Regions from separate parts of the Homo sapiens genome. Here region 1 is linked to region 2. The links are contacts of gene promoters, found by promoter capture Hi-C in human tissues and cell types (Jung and others, 2019). All regions are on one chromosome and are shown on one strand. Each heading gives the region's core, a stretch centred on a gene start or on the middle of the fragment in contact. The rest is flanking DNA. Distances are from core to core; before and after follow the strand shown.

Region 1 (4,565 bases), core at 968-3,467, 41 kb before region 2:
GGGCTCCTCCTGCGAGTGGACCATCAGATAAGAAAAGTTACCATATTGGAGCTGGCAATCAACCCCCATTCTGAGAAGCTAAAGTGGCTGTTGCATAATGAGGCAGGGAGGATTCATCTGAAACTTGGTCGCTGGAGTGTCTTTTGGTGCCTTCATGCTGAGGGATAATGGTGCATAGCCAACCACAGCCAACAAAGTAGGGTAGTGGCAAGACAGTCAAGGGCCCAGGCCCTCAGGAAGAGCAGCCCAGACCAACTTTAGTGTTGACCAGGCATGAAAGAAATCTGGAATTGGTGGGTTGGAGGGGGAGCGGGGAGATGATGAATATTAATTGTGGCTGAGGACCAGCTGCCACAGGCGACTATAGTTTATTCCACTAATTCTACTCCTGAAAGTCCCTTTTCTTTTTTTAAGAGCTTGCATACTCGTAAAGAGTCCACACTCTAAAAGAGTCAGTGATAGTGTGGACTTGCTGTGGGGGAGGAGCAGATCTGAGCAGTGTAAGGGGGGTACCCTCTCTAACACTGGGGGTGCCTCCTTGATTTCAGCACTGTGGCGGTGGACAGCCCCACACGCAGGGCTCACATCGCACCTCAATCTCTCTTAATTAGCTAGGGAAGGATGCAGCCCTACTGTAGTTGTAGCCTCTAAATATGAGGAAGTTAGCCAGCCTCCCAGGAGAATTCTTCAGCCAGTGGGGTAACAGGCTAAATTCCCCAGCCTTCCAGTCCCTCAGTGGGAGAATTCTGAGGGGTATGTCACATGGCTCCTTGGAGGTTCCTCAGTGGGACTGAGTCCCTGTTGCTGCAGAAATAACCAGCTTGATACCTTCAGTTGCATTAAGTTCTTCCCATCCTAGTCTCCATTTGCTTTTACTTCTAAGATCATATTATGGGTTAGTTTTGTCCCCCTTAAAAGATATGTTGAAGTCCTGGCTGGGCGCGGTGGCTCATGCCTATAATCCCAGCACTTTGGGAGGCTGAGGCGGGCGGATCACCTGAGGTTGGGAGTTTGAGACCAGCCTGACCAACATGGAGAAACCCCATCCCTACTAAAAACACAAGAAATTAGCCAGGCATGGTGACACATGCCTGTAATCCCAGCTACTCAGGAGGCTGAGCCAGGAGAATCGCTTGAACCCAGGAGGCAGAGGTTGTGGTGAGCTGAGATTGTGCCATTGCACTCCAGCCTGGGCAACAAGAGTGAAACTCCATCTCAAAAAAATAAATAGATAAAATAAAAAAAAATAAAGGCTTTGGGGGCAGTATCAAAGACCGTTCCTTGATCTCAGACTTCTAGCCTCCAAGACTGAAAAAATAGATTTCTGTTGTCTTAAGCCACCAAATTTATGATACAACAGCCCCCTCTTATTCATGGTTTTATCCATGGTTTTGCTTTCTGCAGTTTCAGTTACATGCAGTACAGTACAGTTATTTTGAGAGGCTGGGGGGGGGGGAGAAAGAGAGACACTACATCCACATAACTTTTATTACAGTATATTGTTATAATTGTTCTGTTTTATATTAGTTATTGTTGTTAATGTCTTACTGTGCCTAATTTATAAATTAAACTTTATCATAGGTATGTATGTTTATGAAAAAACACAGTATATATAGAGTTCGATACCATCCATGGCTTCAGGTATCCACTGGGGGTCTTGGAATGTATCCCGCATGGATAAGGGTGAACTGTTGTACTTATTATGGTAACCATAGGAATCAAATGCAGATCACCTCACACGTAAACTATTTTTCCCCAAGTCTTTGCCACATGTTCTGTTGCAAGGGGACCCAAACTATGTCCTCCCTCCAGCTGAATTTTTATATCTAAATCTGGGGCTCCCATTGTCAGCTAACCATTACCTCTGTCTATCCCTTGCACTTCCAATCAACAAAGCAATTTTACTGGGACCATTGGACAGGATCCTATCTTGTACCTCTCACTTCTCTAACCTCCAGAATTTGGCAAGAGTCCCTCACTTTCCTGTCCAGAACTCTAGTACCATGTGGAAAGTCCAGGTTCTCTTATAAGCATCACCCTTTCCCTGGAAGGAAAGCTCCAGGAACCTCATTTTGGTTGTCAGGTCCTGAGCTAGGGTTTCTCCTGGGCAACAGCAGCTCCAGAATTTCTGTATAGAGGGGTTTGCAGATTATAATCTGATTGGAAGGGGAGTGGGCCATAGATTTACTTGAAACTGTGTTATCAAACCAAGTTTAGAAATACTATGTGTTTATTTGGAGTGATTTTGGGGGTGGGGATAGAGGAAGATGGTTTGGTTTCATCACTCTGTGGCTCAAAGGTGGCCAAGGGAAGCAGCTCCAAAAGCTTTGGTCACTTTTTTGGCACCATCCTGACCTCTCCAAAGCAGAAGGTGCTTTCTCTGGGCAGGCCCTCAGAAAACAGCTCAGGAACTAAGGGAATGCCACTGGCAACCTTTGGCCTTTAAGTGGTGTAAGGGTGTCCTCTAGTGGCCATGACTCAGAAAGCCTCTGGCATAGAGCAATGCTCCTGAGACTGGTGGCCTGTTATAGTTGGGACCAACATTGTGGGACAGAGACCATTATAAAATTGATGACCATCATCATGGGACAAAACTTAAGCAAAGTACTGGAAGACCCTAATGAGACAGAAAATACCTTCACAGGACTGACAGACAAGATGGATCAGACAAACTATTGTGGGACAAACATCTAATTCACAGCTTAGATCATCGCCATAGGCAACTGCTTGCCTTCTGGGAGACTTCGCTGGTGATAAGGGGAATAAGGGGGACAAACAAATGGAATTTTGTCAGCTTGCAAGTACTTGCATTACTGAGCATGCATGGATTCCTAGACTCTGCAACGAGAAGCAAGTCAGTGCTGGCAATTAGATTTCTATCTTAAACAACCTGGGTTCTCTTTGAACACTCCTGGAAATGCTGACTATATCTAGTATGTGGGGAAAATGCTAATTTCTTCATCAGATATGCTCAGAACCTGAAGTCACAGTTATAGGCTGCACCAAGTAAACTTTCAGTAAGAACTGATTCCTCGATGTTCTAAGGAGAGTGGAGTGAAGCTTGTTGGGGTTGAGTCTGGCTGTTGTTGGCAGCTCTGTGGGTGCTGGGAGGGGAAATAGTCTATCTGGGATGGATGGGGCAGAACCAGGTAAGACACCAGTGCCCTGCTGAAGCCCTTGTCTCATTACACTGTCCTGTGTCAGGGCAGGGAAGACTCAGTTTACCTGTTCAATCCTTCTTGCCAGAGCAAGAATCCAGCAAGACCCCCACACTTGCTTCCCTTCATGGGTCCAAAGATCTCTGTGGGCCACATTCTTCCCAGCTTTATAGCTTTCTGGTCCTTGCTAGAAACCCTCTGTACTGGCCTCCCAGGACTCTCCTGACCCATGAGACTCTAAATAATTCTCTCTCTTAGGATTCCAGCAGAGGTCAAGGCCTCACTTGCCTTCAAGCAGCCCACAGGCTCAGGAGTGGCCATAGATTGTGGGTGGGAAAAAGGAAGTGCGATCAGGTTCCCACGTCCCTAGAATCTCGTTTACTCTTCAAAAGTTAATTTGATTGAGTTCATTTTCATGAGGGCTCTGGCTTGGGCAATGGAGGAGTTGGGGAGGTTTATGGTATGGGCCTTGGAGGGCAAAAAGTGGAATAATATTGTCTCTGGTCCCTTCTCAGTTTCCCATGCCCTCCGTCCGTAGTGTCTGAATCCTGTGGAAAGGGGGCATGCAGAGCCACAGGTGCATTTTCCTGATGGTCTCCTTCAAACCCAGAAGTTGAGCAGCACGACATGGGCTTCCCAGGACACAAAGTATGACACACAGCAGGGAAGAGAGATTGACCTAAAGAAGCAGAAACTCAGACATTTATGTCTGCACACAGTTGTCGACCATGGAAGATATCTATTAGCACAAAATCAGAAAGAACCCATATGCCCAACACTAAAAAATCACTTAAGTAAATCATAGTTTACCCGTATAACAGGAACCTATAAAACTATTTAAAATAAGGTTTTTGAAGATTTAATGACCTGGATAATAATCATTCTAAAATGTTTAGTTTAAAAAAAGCCAAAATAGAAAATTCAAAACACTGTTTTAAAAAAAGTTGTTTGTAGAGAAAAGGGATTGGCACAACATGTTAACAATAATGATCGTTGAGGGCAAATTTGAATTATTTCTATTTTTTTCTTTCTCTTTTTTCTATATTTTCCAATCCTTAAAGATAAATGTTACTCATAACAATAAAAATATCATTGTTCAAAAAAGGAGACTGAGATTTTTGTGAGCTGGTTTGCCCTCCCTGTCTGGCCCTAATAGAGAGCACACCAAAGTCATTGTAAGGTCATACATATCCCTTGTCCCTTACAGAGGTGGTCAGAATATAGTGCAGTCCTCCAGCAGACCAATTTAGCAACAGGAACAGAGGGATCCTGTGCCCACCCCTGCAGAGAGCAAAAAGACAGTCTCACTGTGTGTGCTTCACCTGATCCAGATGGAAGCACAGATCCTGGGATCCCTCCTGAGCTGCCGCTAAGAGGAAAGGGGCCTCAATCCCTCCCTCCGCCCAC
Region 2 (4,467 bases), core at 1,968-4,467:
TTTTCTGGACTGAACCAATGTACGTCTTACATATATTGATTGATGTCTCATGTCTCCCTAAAATGTATAAAACCAAGCTGTGTCCCGACCACCTTAGGCACATTACTTCAGGACCTCCTGAGGCTGTGTCATAGGCACATCTTAACCTTGGCAAAATAAACTTTCTAAATTGATTGAGACCTGTCTCAGATACTTTTTGGTTTACAAAAGCCTTGTGACAATACTCTTGAGAAAAGACAGCTTCTAGCAGCAGAGACAGATACCTCCAAAATGGCCACAGGATCTCCTGTCTCAAGAAGACCTTTAAGCTTACCAAATCCATGTGCTAACTCCATCAAAACTGACCAAGGTATAAAGGAGAAGATGGTGACCTTTGGGGAGCCTGAGGGGACTGTCTCAAAGGGCCCTTGTATAAGAGGGGACAGACTGGGGTTGGAGCTCCTGCCTGTGTCAAAAAGAAGGCCTGGAAGCAAGAGGATGAAGACATGTGTTCAACTTTGCCTTGGGATCTGCCTCCATAGGTAGGGAAAGAGTATAATGAATGTGGGAACACTGCAGCTTGATTGAGAAACTCCAATTGCTTCACATGTTTTTCTCATTGCCCTTGTTTCTAACAGTTTGCTGTGAAAAAACACTGTGTATAGAGTGAGTGTGTAAGTATGTGTGTATGTGTGTATGGGAAAGTGAGAGACTCATACCTACCAGCTGGCTTCATCTCTCTCTGACTTTCTATTTTGTTTGCTCATTTTTCTGATATCTCTCTGTATCTCTTCTCTGACTCTTTACTCTTTTGATCTCTTGCTATTCCCAGGCTTGGTTTCTCTTTCTTTTGTCTCCACCCCTGCCCTTTTTGGGACTTAGTTGCAATTATCAGTGTTGCCTGTAGCCAGGCCAGGGTGGATAGGCAGGGAGGACTCATTTCATCTCTTGCCTCCACCCTCCAATTATAGTTGGTTCCATGCATCTCATTCCTCCTTTCTTCAGGTGTGATTCTGAATCTGGCACAGTGGTCTCCAGACCTGGTGCCTTTGCAGTAGGTGGCCTTTCTGCTCTCTCTGTCACCCTCACTACATAACTGTGTCTCACTCTTTTATCTTCCCATCTTGGTCTCTGGGTCCTGGTTCTTGGCAGTCTTGTTTTTGTCGCTAGCCTCATCTTGGTCAAGGCACTGGGAAAGGCCAGTCCCATTCCTGCCTGTTCCCCTGGACTCTGGGGTACTCCCTGAGCAGTGGGCACAAGAGGCCTTGGAGGAGGAGGAGAGGTGCACAGGAGGGAAGGCTTGCAGTGGCCTCCTTAAGGTGTCTCCTCTCCTCAACCACCCCTGCCCTCTCACTCATGGGAGATACTCTTACATGTACTTCACAGAGCATATGGAGACTCAGACATGACCATGCTTATCTTCTGACCACAAAACCCACACACCTGACTTTCTCTGCCAAACAACCTCTGTCACTTTCCTCAGGAATGAATGGATGCTGTTCCTTCCAGCCTCCTGTCAAAGGCCAATCTTTTGCCTTTGCTTCGAATCCTGTCCCAATCCCCATTCTCCATTCCCCCCTCTGGTGCTTGCCTTTCTCTTCTGCATTTCTAACCTGACCTCTCTATGGGAGGCTTTGTATCAGCATCCAGGTACATTCCTCCCTTTCCCATGTTAAAGCAAACAAAACCTTCTCTGGACTTCACATCTCCCATATTACCTCAGGACCTTTCTCATCACTTTTGTTACCAAGCTTCCAGAGAGATTTGTCTATACATGTTAACTCCATTTCTTTACCTCTTACTGTTTCTTTGCTAAGTTAATTTTTATCTTTTCAAAGTAATACATGGTTATGATTTCTAAAGTCAATAGGCATTAAAAAACTTATGCCCTGGAACAGTAGTCCTTTCCTCTCCTGATGCCCAGTCTCTTTTCGCTAAAACAACTATTAATACATTAGATTTTAACTATTTCTTCTTACATCTCTGCATTTTGAAGTAATATGTGTACTGTATATCACTATCTTTTGATTCAACATTTTAGGCATTGTCTATCAACTTCCTCTTCTAGTACATTCCACCACCATCCTTTCAATGTAATTATATTTTAAATTTTAGAGCAATGTTCAGTGGTTACACTATGATTTCTATGCAAACATTATTCACACTTGAGTATATTAGTTTACTATTATATTTCCAATTTTATTTTTTGTTTCTCCTCTTGCTAGTAATTTCTTTATTTTACTTTCATTTATCTGGTTTTCTTGGAAGTTACTGCTAGCTTTTTCCACCTTCTAATAGCCTCCCAATAGGCTGTTTTAGAAGGCCAATAGCATCAGCTAGTCTAGCAAGTCTTTTTTCTTTTTTCTTGGAGACATTCTTTTTGGAGAAACCTGTTCTCTTTCTGTCAGGGCTCTTGGGGATCCTCAGCTCTCTAGGCCAGAGGACTGGCTGCCTTCTGGGAATTTGTTTTTCTCCTTTTTCTTTTTTGTTTTTTTGAGACAAAGTCTTACTTTGTTGCCCAGGTTGGAGTGCAGTGGCACAATCTCAGCTCGCTGCAACCTCCGCCTCCTGGGTTCAAGCAATTTTCCTGCCTCAGCCTCCCTAGTAGCTGAGATTACAGGCATGCACCATGATTCCCGGCTAATTTGCGTATTTTTAGTAGAGACAGGGTTTCACCATGTTGATCAGGCTGGTCTCAAACTCCTGACATCAAATGATCCACGCACCTCAGCCTCCCAAAGTGCTGGGATTACAGGCGTGAACCACCATGCCTGGCCTGTTTTTCTCCTTGTTTGAATTCCTACTTCATGGAGCTCCTATCTTCTTCCTTTTTCATTCTCCAGTGATTTCAACAACTTAGAGAAATGGTGCACTGGCGGAGGATATGGTGGTGGCAGTGCTTCAATTCTTTCGTCTCTCTAGTCAAACTGCCCCAGCCTAGGCTGGGGTTAAGTGGTAGAGGAGGAGTGTGGGTTCCAGGGAGGGATGTGGGAAGTCTCCTGGGCTCTTTTTCTCTTGGTGACAGAATAGTTCATGCCTTCCACCCCTCCCTTGTTTCTCAACTTCAACATTTGAAAAAATGAGGTCAAGTTTCCCACTGGTGAGCAATTGCCCATCCCATTGACAGTCATCCCACTGACATTCAGTGGGTGGTTCTGCTTCACAGAGGCTTGGGGCAGATGGGGAGGGGCCCTTCTGTTCCAGGCCTATATACTAGGAACTGTTAGGTATCAAGCTGTAGCTGGTAGGTACCAGCACCACCAAACAGAAGTGAACTAGTGAGTATGGGCTAAGAGAGCCCAAACTTGGACCTGTAGAGCTGTCGGACCAGGAAAGGGGATCTGTTTCGTCTCAGTCCCCAGGCTTTGCTTACTGGGCTCCTGGATCAGGGAGCTGAGTTCTCGCTGCCTCACCTCCAGCTCCCCAAGTCTGAACTGTGGTAAGCAGCCTAGACTGGACATCTTCTTGGCAGGTTCTAGTGTTGTCTTTTCTTTCCTGAATTATTAAATAGCTCTGCCAACATCAGAAATTTGCAGGGAAGCCCTGAGTCTTCCCATGCAGCCTGAAGCTTTGTTGTAAATTGATCCTGCTTTCACAGGCCTGCTTTTCCAAACTGGCCTATGACTCACAACCAAAGTCCCCTGTATCCTAACATGTTCCAAACATTTTCTTTCTCTGTCAGTATGTAGTCAAAATGTTGGTATTTGAATGGCAACAACTCTCTGTGTTCCCAAATTCTCTTTTGAACACTCTCAATGATGAATGTGACATTGTACTACTGAGATGGGTTCCCTATGGGCCTTAGGTCACAGGTGTATTTCTGGATTCTGAAGGCTTTCTATTAATTGTTGCTTTTCTTTTCCAAAGACTGCCACCTGGCCTACATTTTGGTTCTACATTAGAAACACAATTCAAAACTCTGCTCTCCTTTCCCGTTACTTTAGTATTTATACATGTCTCCAGCTTCTGGCAACATTTAGCCTAACTTTCTGGTTCCTGACTCTGTCTTCTATTTCTTTATCTTTTGAGTTTTTTCTGTCTCTCTCTTCCACCCAGGGCATAGACCAGTTTAAATCCTGCCTCTTTGCCCGGTGGCCTAGCTCTGGAAAACTCTGAAAAACCATTTTTCTCTGACTGCCAAATTTCTCATGTGGAACAGTTCCTGAGACGATTTCTGAGATGATCAAAAAGGATATGTAAATCACCTGGCACAAAGTCAGCACTCACAGGTGGCGGTTCCTCTTCCTATCATTATCTGGATTTGTTTCCTTATTTGAATTAGGAGACTTCTAGCTTTGCAATCCCTGTGTGACTGAGGCCAGGAGGCTGACATGTGAGGCCAATGGGTTGAGTGTAGATTTTTTTTACCTTCTTGCCATACCACAGCAGTTCCAGCAAATGTGCTCCAGCTTTCTATAGGTTCACACAGCCAGGGACAGTCTCACTTTTAAAACTTAAAACTTGGCCGGGCACAGTAGCTCATGCCTG

The links. The method cuts DNA at HindIII sites, captures the fragments that hold promoters and counts their contacts. A contact is called where the count stands out against the background at its distance.
Region 1: a fragment that was not itself captured here is called in contact with the fragment with the promoter of NLRP10 in region 2 in 1 of the 25 tissues and cell types used here (pancreas).

What each region holds. Positions count from the first base shown.
Region 1 is chr11:8,004,466-8,009,030 of GRCh38, reverse strand. No RefSeq gene overlaps it. Among named protein-coding and RNA genes, the nearest start is that of CASC23, 9.8 kb to the left of the region's middle. The HindIII fragment of the contact is 4,444 bases long and covers 1-4,439 here.
Region 2 is chr11:7,964,197-7,968,663 of GRCh38, reverse strand. It overlaps NLRP10 (NLR family pyrin domain containing 10), which reads left to right and starts at 3,217. Exons shown (of 3, transcript NM_001391958.1): 1 at 3,217-3,418. The HindIII fragment of the contact is 5,237 bases long and covers 1,020-4,467 here.